Regions from separate parts of the Homo sapiens genome. Here regions 1 and 3 are each linked to region 2. Evidence: promoter capture Hi-C in 16 types of primary human blood cells and fetal thymus (Javierre and others, 2016). All regions are on one chromosome and are shown on one strand. Each heading gives the region's core, a stretch centred on a gene start or on the middle of the fragment in contact. The rest is flanking DNA. Distances are from core to core; before and after follow the strand shown.

What was found. Contacts are between HindIII fragments. The CHiCAGO score rates a contact against its expected background, and 5 or more counts as called.
Region 1: a contact is called between the fragment with the promoter of REPS2 here and the fragment with the promoter of TXLNG in region 2, in 1 of 17 cell types (total B cells). The highest score is 5.2, in total B cells.
Region 3: a fragment that was not itself captured here is called in contact with the fragment with the promoter of TXLNG in region 2 in 1 of 17 cell types (total B cells); the score reaches 5.1 in total B cells.

What each region holds. Positions count from the first base shown.
Region 1 is chrX:16,945,238-16,949,669 of GRCh38, forward strand. REPS2 (RALBP1 associated Eps domain containing 2) reads left to right here and starts at 1,421. Exons shown (of 18, transcript NM_004726.3): 1 at 1,421-1,897. The coding sequence starts at 1,625. The HindIII fragment of the contact is 5,688 bases long and covers 1-2,824 here.
Region 2 is chrX:16,783,787-16,788,122 of GRCh38, forward strand. TXLNG (taxilin gamma) reads left to right here and starts at 2,680. Exons shown (of 10, transcript NM_018360.3): 1 at 2,680-2,803. The coding sequence starts at 2,702. It overlaps LOC124905250 (a long non-coding RNA gene), which reads right to left and starts at 2,480. Exons shown (of 2, transcript XR_007068398.1): 1 at 2,284-2,480; 2 at 1,874-2,177. RefSeq lists enhancers at 2,076-2,275, 2,247-2,979 and a silencer at 3,026-3,465. The HindIII fragment of the contact is 8,203 bases long and covers 1-4,336 here.
Region 3 is chrX:17,035,135-17,039,478 of GRCh38, forward strand. The region is part of intron 5 of REPS2 (RALBP1 associated Eps domain containing 2); the gene reads left to right. Among named protein-coding and RNA genes, the nearest start is that of REPS2, 91 kb to the left of the region's middle. The HindIII fragment of the contact is 2,613 bases long and covers 799-3,411 here.

The DNA.
Region 1 (4,432 bases), core at 171-2,670, 160 kb after region 2:
TGGGATTTCACCACGTTGGCCAGGCTGGTCTCGAACTCCAGGACTCAAGTGATCTGCCTGCCTTGGCCTCCCAAAGTGCTGGGATTACAGGCATGACCCACCGCGCCCGGCCTGGACTTTCTTTTAAAAGCGGCTAGAGGGCCAGGCGTGGTGGCTCAAGCCTGTAATCCCAGCACTTTGGGAGGCCGAGGTGGGGGGGTGGGGGTGGGGTGGATCACCTGAGGTCAGGAGTTCGAGACCAGCCTGACAAACATGGTGAAACCCCGTCTCTACTAAAAATACAAAAATTAGCCAGGAGTGGTGGCAGGCGCCTGTAATTCCAGCTACTCGGGAGGCTGAGGCAGGATAATCGCTCGAACCCGGGAGGTGGAGGTTGCAGTGAGCCAAGACTGTGCCATTGAACTACAGCCTGGGCAACAAGAGCGAAACTCCTTCTCAAAAAAAAAAAAAAAAAAAAAAAGTGGTTAGAGTACTAGCCAGGGGGAAGCAAGCACATTTGAAAAATATAGTGTGTATGCTTTAGGATAGGGAGGAATGGAGAGAGAGAGGAGGACATGGACCGGGGTGGAAAAATGTGGGGTTTCGCATTGATTTTTGGTGTGAGCTTGAACAAGTTTTGTACTAAAAAAAATGCCTGTTTTACTACTAAAATAAGTGCTTCCTTTGGAGAGTGAGGATCCTCTGTTACTGAGGTTTGTATTTTCAGGCCCTAGCATATAAATCTGCTACATACGAGATATTCAACTGGTTTTGGAGGAATGAAGGTGAACATGGCAGTTTCCTCATCTGTAAAAGCAGGGTTTGGACGAAATGATCTGCAAAATGGGTCTTTTTGTACTCTTACTACTCTAGTATTTACGAGTAACCGATGTTATTCCTTATAAAGTCTCAACTCCTGGTTTGAGCCATGTCTGACGAGGGGGCCTAACTCCAATACCACCCTGAACACTCTGGGGTCAGTGGGACCCTGTTTGTACAGACGTCTGCGTCTTCCGGCTCTTTAGGACATAAGCAGTACTGCTATGGAAGAAAGGAAACCTAATTTCCCATGCCTTGTCCCTTTCTGGAAAGGGCATGGCGTGGTGTGGGCACCACACCTGCCCCAGCCTTCTAGCAAGAAAACAACACAACCTTCCCCGCTCCCCGAAAAGAGCTTCTCTCCAGTTGGGTCTAGATGCCCCCTTCCCAACCAGGGCGGATGGCCAAAGGCTCCGCTCCCTTGCAGGGTAGGCTTGGAAAGGCACGGGGCCCGCCTTCCTGGGCACCGGAGCCTGTGACGGGCGGAGGGCGTGCGGCGCGCTGGGTTAGTTACCTGGCGCTGGGCGGGGCAAGCGGGAGGCGGGGGCGGGGCCGGGGTGACATCTCAGGCTGTGATTGGGCCGCGCCGCGCCTGTCTCCATGTGCCGCGCAGCTGAGGCACAACATTCAAGCCCGGGGGTGGGGCCGGCGCGCGCCGGGAGGAAGCGGCCGCGCGGCAGCTGCGGGGCGTGGGGGTGGTGGTGGCGGCGGCGGTGGTGGCGGCGGCGGCGGCGGCGGCAGCTGAGGCCGAGGAGGCGGTGGCTGTGGCGGACGCAGCAGCACCCCAGCTAGGGACAGGGCTCCGCCGCGCCCCCTTGCTGGCCCCATGGAGGCGGCAGCGGCGGCGGCGGCGGCGGCAGCGGCAGCGGCAGCGGCGGGCGGGGGCTGTGGCTCCGGGCCGCCGCCGCTGCTGCTGAGCGAGGGCGAGCAGCAGTGCTACTCCGAGCTCTTCGCGCGCTGTGCCGGCGCCGCGGGCGGGGGCCCCGGGTCTGGGCCCCCCGAGGCCGCCAGAGTCGCCCCCGGCACGGCCACTGCGGCCGCCGGCCCCGTGGCTGACCTGTTTCGGGCATCGCAGCTGCCCGCCGAGACGCTGCACCAGGTGGGTCCCTCCGCCTCCTGTCCCTGCGGGTCTGTGGGGCAGTGTGTGCGGGGGCGGAGGTTGCGAGTGGGGCGACAGGGCTGCCCCCAGGGACCCGGAGGCCTCGGCCAGTTCTGAGAGAGAGGACTCTGCAGCCGGGGATGGCGGCGACGCCCTTGTCCCCGGGGGACACCAGCCTCCTTCGCAGCTCAGCTCCTCGCCCAGTGCTGGGTGCGCTCTCCCCATCTTCCTTCCCTGAGACAGTCTGACACTCTCTCCCCTCCCCCGGCCATTTCTGGGGTTCTGCAGCCGCCCAGACCCAAAGTTTGTCCTGTTCTGGAAGTGGTGTTTGTTTTGGCTGCTGCCTGGTTTAACCTCTGCTCGCTGCTCCTGCCCCTCCCTCTCCTGAGTGGGTTCTCAGGGTGCCTTGCTGGGATTTCAACTTGAAGGGTGTGTGTGTCCGTAGGGTTCGAGGCCCAGGGCTGAATGTTGTCCTCTCTATGTAGTTGTAATATATAAGTATCTACTATATGTAATTGCCCATAACATATTTCTAAATATTAATATTAAATCGAAAACCTTAATGACAAGTTGCAGAACAGGGACACGGGACTGCAAGAGGACGTTTGTCAAGTCAAAACCAAATTTCCCATTTGAGATTAGAGGTGGACTTCAGAAGTCCACCATGGGAAACAGCTGTAGTTTCCCATCTATCATTACTTGGACTTGAAATAGAATTGAAAGGTAAGGGATGTCATAGCTACCACCTTTTGGCTGTTCTATACTTGGAAAAGTACTAGGGGATGATACATACCAGACGCTGTTTTTGTTTTGTGCTTTCCTTGGAGCTTGGAGAAAGACTACTTGATAAGCCTTTGTCTGTCATTTCATGTCACCAGCACTTCATGGTGATAAGACTGTTAATATCAGGTTCAAAACGTGAAATGAAGCTTTTCCTAAAAGCAATAGTATGAATGTTATTAACACCAATGGAATATTTAGAGTGGCGAGTGGTATTTTAAAATCTAGTTTCAAAGGAGAACTGAGGGTTTTATGGTTCACTTGCAATGTCATTGTGTTCATACGTATTTTTAAAAAAATTGCTTAAGACTGCGTTTTATACTGCTGGAGTGTTTTTACTGCTATATGTTTGTGAGCATAACTTTAGACACTTTGTAATCTTTCACCCTTTTGAATTTGGGATTTCTGAAACTGTAACTAGTATTCACAGAACTTAGCATGGCTGTTTATCCCTAAAGAAGTCCTTGATATGTAGACAGTTCTGCCATTGCTGATGAGTAGTTGAGCTGGATCAGGTAAAGAGAAAGTCAGTGTCTTAAAACACAAACCGTGGCTATTACATGAGGCCCTCAGAATAGTCCCGAGCATAATACATTTATTCAGTGCTGTAGCTGCTTCCCAGCTGAAAGAGGAATAATTGACTGAGGCTATGCAGCAAGTAAGTGACAGCTGGGTACCTATTAAGGCTTATTTTGTTGTCAGTAATGCATCGGATAAGAGGAGGTGGGCATAGTAAATCTGAATATGTTGGTTGATGCCTCTTTAGGAATTGGGAAGAAGGATTTCCTGATGTTAGAACCCATGCTTTCTTGAGGTACATATAGTTTTAAAAGGACCCAAGGCACAGTGGCTGTGCGTGAATGAGATTATATTTTTGATGTCCAGTTGAAATCTGCTTGCAAAAGACTGCTTCAGATACTGGCAAAAGGGGACATCCCTGCGAGATTGCTTGGAGTAAATCTCTCAGAGCTCGAAGCTCCCTTATTCAGCCTAGCAAAGCAAAACACATCATCCACCTTTAATCCAACAAAATTACCATAACTCAATATTCTTGGTACAGGTGAAAATGAACATTGAAGGCATCCTGGACATGTGATCCTAAGAGAGTCAAACAAAGTCAGCAACCAGCAGACACCTAATTTTCACCCATCACTTTGGTGGTGGTGGTGGTGGTGGTGGTGGTGGTGGTGTGTGTATGCTCCATCCACTTTAATTTGCATTACCCCATCAGTGTATTAGCCATTCTTTAAAACAAACGTAGATGTTTTTACCCTTTCTCTGTTAAACAGGAACCTGTAAGTTGAGATTTAAGTGCCCCAACAGGTATAACTGCTCAAATCTTGGAGGCACTAACCAGTCCTGATATTTTCTATGGTAACAACCAGGTTTTCCTCTTAATAAGCATACAATTAAGATTACCATAATAATGTTCCAGGAAGAGTGAGAATCTTGCATTCTTACCACAAGTAAATGGTCTATAAAAATACTTATTTTTTATTTATTTATTTTTTGAGATGGAGTCTCGTTCTGTTGCCCAGGCTGGAGTGCGGTGGCGTGATCTTGGCTCACTGCAACCTCTGCCTCCCGGGTTCAAGCGATTCTTCCGCCTCAGCCTCCTGAGTAGCTGGGACTACAGGCGCACGCCACCTCTCCCGGCTAATTTTTGCATTTTTAGTAGAGACGGCGTTTTGCCATGTTGGCCAGGCTGGTCTCGAACTCCTGACTTCAGGTGATCCACCCGCCTCAGCCTCCCAA
Region 2 (4,336 bases), core at 1,430-3,929:
GCAGAGGACGAGTCGGGCAGAGCACTTGTGGCCAGGAGTTTGAGAGCAGCCTGGCCAACATGGCGAAACCCCATCTCTACTAAAAATGCAAAAATTAGCCGGGTGTGGTGGTGCACGCCAGTAATCCCAGCTACTAGGGAGGCTGAGACACGAGAATTCCTTGAACCTGGGAGGTGCAGATTGCAGTGGGCTGAGATCATGCCACTGCACTCCAGCCTGGGCGACAGAGCAAGACTCTGCATTAAAAAAAAAAAAAAAAAGAGGCCAGGCACGGTGGCTCAGGCCTGTAATCCCAGCACTTTGGGAGGCCGAGGTGGACGGATCACAAGGTCAAGAGATGAAGACCATTCTGGCGAACGTGGTGAAACCCCCTCTCTACTAAAAATAGAAAAATTAGCTGGGCGTGGTGGGGCGCGCCTGTAATCCCAGCTACTTGGGAGGCTGAGGCAGGAGAATCACTTGAACCCGGGAGGCAGAGGTTGCAGTGAGCCGAGATTGGCCACTGCACTCCAGCTTGGGCAACAAGAGCAAAACTCTGTCTCAAAAAAAAAAAAAAAAAAAAAGATATGCATTTAATTCAATTAAATATTTTTCATTTCTCTGAAGGCTTGGGGTTAATGGCATAGTTCTTTTCTTTTCTTTTTATTTTTTGAGACGGAGTCTCGCTCTTGTTGCCCAGGCTAGAGTGCAATGGCGTGATCCCGGCTTACTGCAACCTCCGCCTCCCGGGTTCAAGCGATTCTCCTGCCTCAGCCTCCCTAGTAGCTGGGATTGCAGGCACGTGTCACCACGCCTGGCTAATTCTATTTTTAGCACAGACCGGGTTTCACCACGTTGGTCAGGCTGGTCTTGAACTTCTGACCTCAGGTGATCCGCCCGCCTCGGCCTCCCAAAGTGCCGGGGTTACAGGCGTGAGCCACCGTGGCCGGCCTCTTTCCTTAATAAAGATAACTTTATTGATTTTTTTCATTCCATACATACTTAAACAATATAGAAAATCATGAAATTTGAAACCAGCCTGGGCAACATAATGCCCCATCTCTAAAAAAAAATTTTTTTTTGAGGAATAACTTACTTTTGTGTGTGTGTGTGTGATGGAGTTTCTCCTCACCCAGGCTGGAGTGTTCAATGGCACGATCTTGGCTCACTGCAACCTCTGCTGCCCGGGTTCAAGCGATTCTCCTGTCTCAGATCCCAAATAGCTGGAATTACAGAAGCCCACCACCGGCTGGGGGCGGTTGCTCACACCTGTAATCCCAGCACTTTGGGAGGCCGAGGAGGGCAGATCAGGGGGTCAGAAGTTCAAGACCAGCCTGGCCAACATGGTGAAACCCCTCTCTCTACTAAAAATACAAAAATTAGCCCAGCGTGGTGGCACGTGCCTGCAATCCCAGCTACTCGGGAGGCTGAGGCAGGAGAATTGCTTGAACCTGGGAGGCGGAGGTTGCAGTGAGCTGAGATCGTGCCACTGCACTCCAGCTTTGGGTGACAGCAAGACTCCGTCTTGGGAAAACAAAAACAAAGAAAAAAGAAAAGCCCACCACCACCACCATGCCCGGCTAATTTTTGTATTTTTAGTAGAGACGGAGTTTCACTGTGTTGGCCAGGCTGGTCTGGAACTCCTGACCTTGTGATCCACCCGCCTCGGTCCCCCAAGGTGTTGGCATTACAGGCGTGAGCCACCGCGCCCGGCCTCATAATGAATTATTTAAGACAATATATCAGGATTTCATGATGGTCTGTGCCTTTCAGAAGCTCGGCCATTGGAGATCTGGTTCCATCAGATGGAAATAGGGAATATTCCTGAGGAAATCTCCCCTCTCCCCCCCAACATCATATCAATAAAAAAAAAAATTCGGTTCAGCAAACCGAGTTTGTTGAAAAAATTTAGGTAATGAAACGAGTAAATGGGGTGGGAGAAAGCAGGATACATTCAACATGAATGAAGTGCCAAGTAAGTGTGCAGAAGCCGGGGCGGTTCAACCAAGGTGAATAGAATGCGGCACCTATCCCGCGGGAGCTCGGGACAAGTAAACCGTGGTAACAACTCTGGTGGAGGGGCAGGGCTCGGGGCAGGTGCCCGAGCACGAAACTTCAAATTCTAAGAGCCAATACACCTTCCGTCTTGAAAGTCGTGAAGTATTTTCCCTTATCCCCAAATCATTCGCGCCCAATTCCTAAGAACGGCAACAAAAACAAAAACACAAGAATGTGTCGCCGATCGTGCTCCTTCTCAAACACGGGGATATTTCTAAACTTTCCGCGAAAGATCATAACGAGTACCTTCCTATAGCCAGACATCGCCCCCAGAAACCGCAAGTCCCACTAGGATGCACACGAAGCACACTGGGTGCAGCACTCTCCCCTTTTCAGAACGCCGCCTTATGTCCCAATCCCGATCCGAGCCTGCGAGCTGTGGCCGCACGCCCTGCTGGGACTTGTAGTCCACTCCCGAGTCCCATTCCCGATCCGCGCAGACTCACACGGCCTCTATCTGCCCTTCGGTCTTGCTGAAGCCCAGCCCAGTATTCAATGCTCCCCATCCCCATCTCGCTCCGTCCCCTCGGGGGCCAACCTCCTCCGGTCACGTGGGAAGTCTCACATGCGGCGATTGGTCGTGGGGGCTCGGGGGCGGGGCGAAAGGCCCTGCGAGATTCTGTGCCCCTTGTCGGGCCGCTTGTTTGGCTGCTGCCGTCACCTCATGGCGACGCGGGTAGAGGAGGCAGCGCGGGGAAGAGGCGGCGGCGCCGAAGAGGCGACTGAGGCCGGACGGGGCGGACGGCGACGCAGCCCGCGGCAGAAGGTCAGTCAGGGGGACGCCCTCGTTGTTGTCGGGCCCGGGGGATGTTTGGGCTCCCTTTTTCAGGGTCCACCTCTTCTCTCTCCCTGGTTACCTATAGCCACGGGACGAACATCCGGTCTTCTTCCCTCCCGGGGGTGACGACAGTGGGAGCAGGTGGGGGGGGGTGGGACCGCGATGGATGGGGTGGGAAGGGACGACGGTTGGGGTTTGGCGGCGCGCGGCGGGGAAGCCGGGAGGGAGGGCAGGGGGCGCACGCGGTTCTAAGGGAGAAGGGGTGCGAGGCGGGGGTGCGCCAGGTGTGACAGCCACGTGCGGCCAGCACCGCGGGGATCCGGGCGCCAGGCGTTCCTTCTCCCAGTCACCGCCGTCACCGTGCTCCCGGCGCTGAGCGCCGCCGTCCGGGGGCTCGCTGGGGTCGTGGGCTCGCCCTCCTGGCGTCGGGCAGGTGCGCAGGGCGCGCTGCGGGGTGCCCCCGGGCTGCTCAGGCTAGGCTGTTGCGCAGTAAGATAACCGCGCGGGAGCCGGGGTGTGCTTGGCCCCCCTTCCCCCGCCCCCCTGCGCTCCCCGCCACTGCGCGGGCGGGCAGGCGAGCGGGTGAGTGTCGCAGGGCCGGTGCGAGCGGGACGCTCGGCCCCCGGGACCTAGACCCCGGGGCTCCGAGGGCTTGGCTGCACGTGGGGCCGGGGATGGATGGGGAGGCGATGCTGGAGGACCTCGGTCCTGCAGAGTTGGGATATCGCATGATAGCTGGTCCTCCCAGTCCTATTTACCACCCTCCTCTTTTTTCCCCTCTTTTTTTTCTTTCATTTATTATTTTTTTAATTTGATGAGTGGAAACTTGAATGCCTTCCCGACCCTGGCCTTGGGTCTTTCTTAATCTGGGAAACAGGCCGGACTGTTCCCCTTGCCTTACTTGACTCACGTCAAGGAGTTTTCAGTCCCTCCCTAGATACAGGAAAATTGAGACCTCTTTCAGAACGGGACAATTCCACTTGTTCTGGAGCTCAGTGGGTGGAGTTTGAAAAAGATTGCACAACGAACGGGGTACAGGGTTTTCGGGGCCCTGGAATGGATAATTGCGGGGACTGAGACTGGGAAGGTGGGAACCCCATCTCTTTTTTTCCTTGCAGGTGAACATACTGAAACGTTCGACTTGTTGGATATCTTGCTTGATCACCGAGGGCTATTTAATATTACTTAATTATGTATTTGAACACTCTTAACTCCTGTATGAAATTACGAAATAATATTTTTCTAATGCAATTCATAAACTTCAAATGGGAGAACAAAGGTCCAGTTTACGTCTGAGCAGAGTGTTAAGAATTAGCTTTTTGGGGCCTGTTTCTAAGGTCAGGTATTTTCATGTTTCTGCATGACAGTGTTACTACTTCTCAATTACCTCTCTTTCTTTCTCTCCCTCTCTTTGTATTCTAAAAGAAAGATCCAGTGCTTGCAGGACTGAAAAAGAAGCTGTGGACCAATGTCCTGTAAGGGATTCAACACCATCACTTTGGACACTTCACTTATTCCCTA
Region 3 (4,344 bases), core at 855-3,354, 250 kb after region 2:
GTCAGAGTGGTGTTGGCCTGAGTCAAAAGATAATTGATAGTCACCACAAATAAATTGTTCATTCTAAGAGCTTTGATGAAAACAGCAGGAAATAGCCTTTGGGGGAGGCTGATATTGCACCGAGAGATCTTCTTGTGGCATGAAAGATATTTTATGGGTAGACTGGACCAGGATGCAAGCAGGATAAGGAGAGCGGAGGAGTGAGAATGACTGATGGTTTGGGATGGGATTGAGTGAGGTGGGTTAGAGTTGAGTCATGAGAGAGTTGGTCATCTGAGTTTGGAAGAAGAGTGAAGCAGGTAAACAAGCGGGGCATACTGGGTACTGTCTTGGCTACTCTGGTTGTCTAACCTAATACTCAGCCCAGGGAATTGACCCACAGAGCAGGTCAGGCCCGCCCGGATTCTTTTGGGGTTCAAGAATTATTTACCAAGGCATTACTTGGTAAGTAAGTGTTCATACGAACGTGTGTGAGCTCTCAAACACACTTGTTCTTCAGAGCAAATACAGATTTTAAAAATATGTCAAACATTCAACAGATACAAAAGGGCACAGTGAAAACTGTCCCTACCATTTCCCCGCACAGCCACTCATCCCAGGGGCAACTGATATGACCCATTTATTTTGTATAGTACTATACAAAACATTTATATAATATTGTATATGAATATCTTTTTTATATACAAGTGAAAATAGGTATTATATATAATTACATGTAATATATGCAAAACACAGTTATGCTTTTTTACACATATGGTGGCATACTATACATCTAACATGCATTTAGCACTAACAATAAGCTTTATTAACGTTCTATAGCAGCACATAAAGTACTTCCTCATCTTTTTGTTTTTTACAGATGCATAGTATTTCCTTGTCTGCGTCTTGTGTAAATCATTTAGCCAGCCCCTTTTGATTGACATCTTGTACTTGCAATCACTGCGTTGTTTGCAGATATATGGGAGACCAATTCCTAGAAATTGAATTATTGGGTGAAAATGCCTATATATTTGTAATTTTTGATAACGACTTTCAAATTGGAGGTATAGCAGCCTATGTACTTGCCAACAATATATGAAAATGTCTGTTTTCTCGTACCTTTGTGAAAACAATGTGCTAACAAATTTATGGGTCTTTGCCAATCTGATAGGTGAAAAATGATAGCTCACTGTAGTTTAATTAGCATATCTCTTTATTAGTGAAGTGAAATATCTTAAGTTTATGAGTCACTTGTATTTCCTTTTCTGTGAACTGTTGATTCATATCAAGTGCCCCTTTTTCTTTTGAGTATTGGTTTGTCATTCTTAATGGCATGAAACCAGAAGCTGGTCTGTCTTTTCCTTTGGACCAGAGATATACTGGAGTGTGTGTGGAAGATTTCTCCCTGAGTGGTGAGAGGAGATGCTGGCACCTGAGGCTCTCGAAGGAGGTTATGGACCCCAGCTGCTTCCCAGTTCTGGAGAACCCCAGGCCTGCCTGCAGTGCAGATTTCTTGTTTATAAGGTCATGACAGTAAAGTTGAATTACTTAGTTTATGGGTAGAGATTAGGGCTAAAAAAAAATCCTCTGTTGTTAGAGATGGTAAATGTCAACACTGTGTGTGTGCGTTGATCTCTCAGCATTGCTTAGACAGCTAAATTATGTTCCTTTCACTGAAATGGGTGGGAGGAGGAGATAGAGGTAGAGATAAAGATAGATAGAGGGAGAGAGTATAAGTGTGTGTGTGTGTGTGTGTTAGGAAGAGTGAGTTTGATGCCTTTTCTAGGTATGTATGTGCCTTATTCTTGAGATCTTCTTTCACCAAATTCATTCCTCGTTTCATTTGAGACCCCAGCTGGACGTTTATACCATCTCCTAAGGGGTCAAAGGTTAACATGTCCTCCAGGTGTCCTACTTCACTGAGTCTACTATAGAACCCACATATACCTGAACGGACACTATTGCCACAAGGAGGTCCTATTTTTTCATAGCCTCCAGTCTCCTGCTTACTTATTTTCTTCACCTGCTTGTAGTTCTCTTTCTGATTTTCTAGCCCTTAACTTTTGAGGAAGGATTTCTAGCTCTTAACTTTTGGGGAAGGAAACATTTAATCTCAACTGATACTGAAGTTTATTTTCTCAGTGCCAATCTTTTCTACTTGTTTCTTTTTTCTTTTTTCCTTTTCTTTTCATTGATTGATTGATTGATTGATTGAGATGGAGTCTCGCTCTGTTGCCCAGGCTGGAGTGCAGTGGCGCGATCTTGGCTGACTACAACCTCTGCCTCCCAGGCTCCAGCAATTCTCCTGCCTCAGCTTCCTGAGTAGCTGGGACTACAGGCGTGCGCCACTGCGCCTGGCTATTTTTTGTATATATTTCTTTTAGTAGAGACGGGGTTTCACCATGTTGGCCAGGGTGGTCTTGAACTCCTGACCTCAAGTGATTCACCCGCCTTGGCCTCCCAAAGTACTAGGATTACAGGCGTGAGCCACCATGCCCGGCCTCTACCTGTTTCTTAGTGTATTCCTCAGGTGCTCACTGTGTACCACACTTCTTGACAATAAAAGAGATGTTTAGTTAATTTAGCCTCCCAGAGGTAGCTGAAAACACTGGTTTGAACTGCTGGTTCCAGGCAGTACTTTGTAAATCTGGAAAGGATAGTAGCTTATTCCCCAGGACCTTTTGGTCTCAGTTATATGCCAGGCTATGGATATGGAAGACTTCTTTACAACTGGCACCATTTTAGCCCCTGGGCCCATCAGTCTTTCCCTTGATCTCAGGCGAGCAGGGAGTGTCATGCCCCCCCAGTTGCCTATCCCAACAATAGTCACTACTGACTGAGGTGCTTCTTTGGTCCCAGTGCTGTGCTGGCCCTTTTCAGTCCTCCCAACAATCTCACAAGGTAGGTATTATTACATCTTCCATTTGTCCATTTGGAAATACTTAAGTGGCTTCCATGAGTCAGCCACCATGCCAGGGGTACACTGAGGAGTACACCTATAGCCTCTTGCTCTCTAGGTGCTTGCAGTCAAAAGGAGGAGATAGATTTGAATCAAATGATCCCACCTATGCATGTGGAATTAAAAACTGACAATTGCCCTAAAGGCCTTAAAACATGGTACCATGTAGCAAAGGAATCCAGCCTATAGCTAGAAAGTGAGAGAAGGCTCCTTTAACAAAGTATGTGTTGAGCTGAGCTGTGAAGGATGAATAGAAGTTAACCAGGCTAAGGAAGGATGGTCCTGGGAGGTGAGGAGAGGAGTGGAGTGTTTCCTGTAGAGGTAAGAGCCTCTCCAAAACCGCACAGCAGAGCTGGGCTGCTGAGAGAGCTTTGCTTCTGTCACAATCAGAAAGCTACAGCATTGGGAAACTGCTGCCCTAGTGTCAGCTCCAACCAGATCCACACTACAAACTACCTTGGCAGCCAAATGAAAGCTTTGTTCCCTGCCTGTAACTTGGGTCTGCATCCGTCTTCCGTGGGTGTATTTGTTGAGTGGAACCTAAGTCCTATTTGGAATTCTAGCAGCAAAGGTGTTTTGACAGTGGAGTTTTTAGCTAGCCAGCTTGTGCAGTGCTGGGACTTATGCTGACGGGTGGAATGGACTCGTGACCCAGTCTCTACCATATTTCACAGGGAGAGCAGATACATTTGAAGAACTGAAAGAAGGCAGCTGTGGCTAGAGCCTGGAGTGGGAGGGAGATGAGGTCGGAGAGGGAGGCAGGGCCCTGTGGGCTATGTGACTGCCTTGCAGGTGGGAGCTGATGGCTCAGAAGTTAATTTACTGGTTAGTAAGTGACCATGCCAAATTGGAACCCAAGTCTGTCTGCCTCTGGAACCTGTACTCTTTTTGCACCTCCAGTCAGTAGCCTCATTCTCCAAAGCATTCTTGAATTCTGTCCAAGTTGTGGATGCATCTGTTTCCCATCTGAACTCAGACTGCCTTGAGTGTGAAGGGGAGAACGTAGTGAAGAGACAGGCAGCCTTGGCCTGACCAGCAAGGACAGGGGTGGGAACGTCATCGCTTCGTTAATGGAAGTCTGCAGCCTTGTCAGAGTCTCCTCTTACTGCTGATTTCTCATTTTTCTTGGCTTTCTCCTCTAAGCAGAGCACAAAATCCTGATAATAGTGAAGGAAAAGTGCCCTTCTGGAACAGCAAATCTTGGCCCCTGAGGGGAGAATTGGAGGCAGTGGTTACTAATGAGCATTTCTTATGTTAATCAAAATACTGTTAGCGCCACATACTGCAATCACAGTAAAATGATTACATACCTGGATTGTATGGCTAGCTCTAGGATTCTTTTGTGATGACGTGCCAGATGCTTACCTGCAAAAATTATGTGAGAAATAAAATGGTGCTCTGTCAGT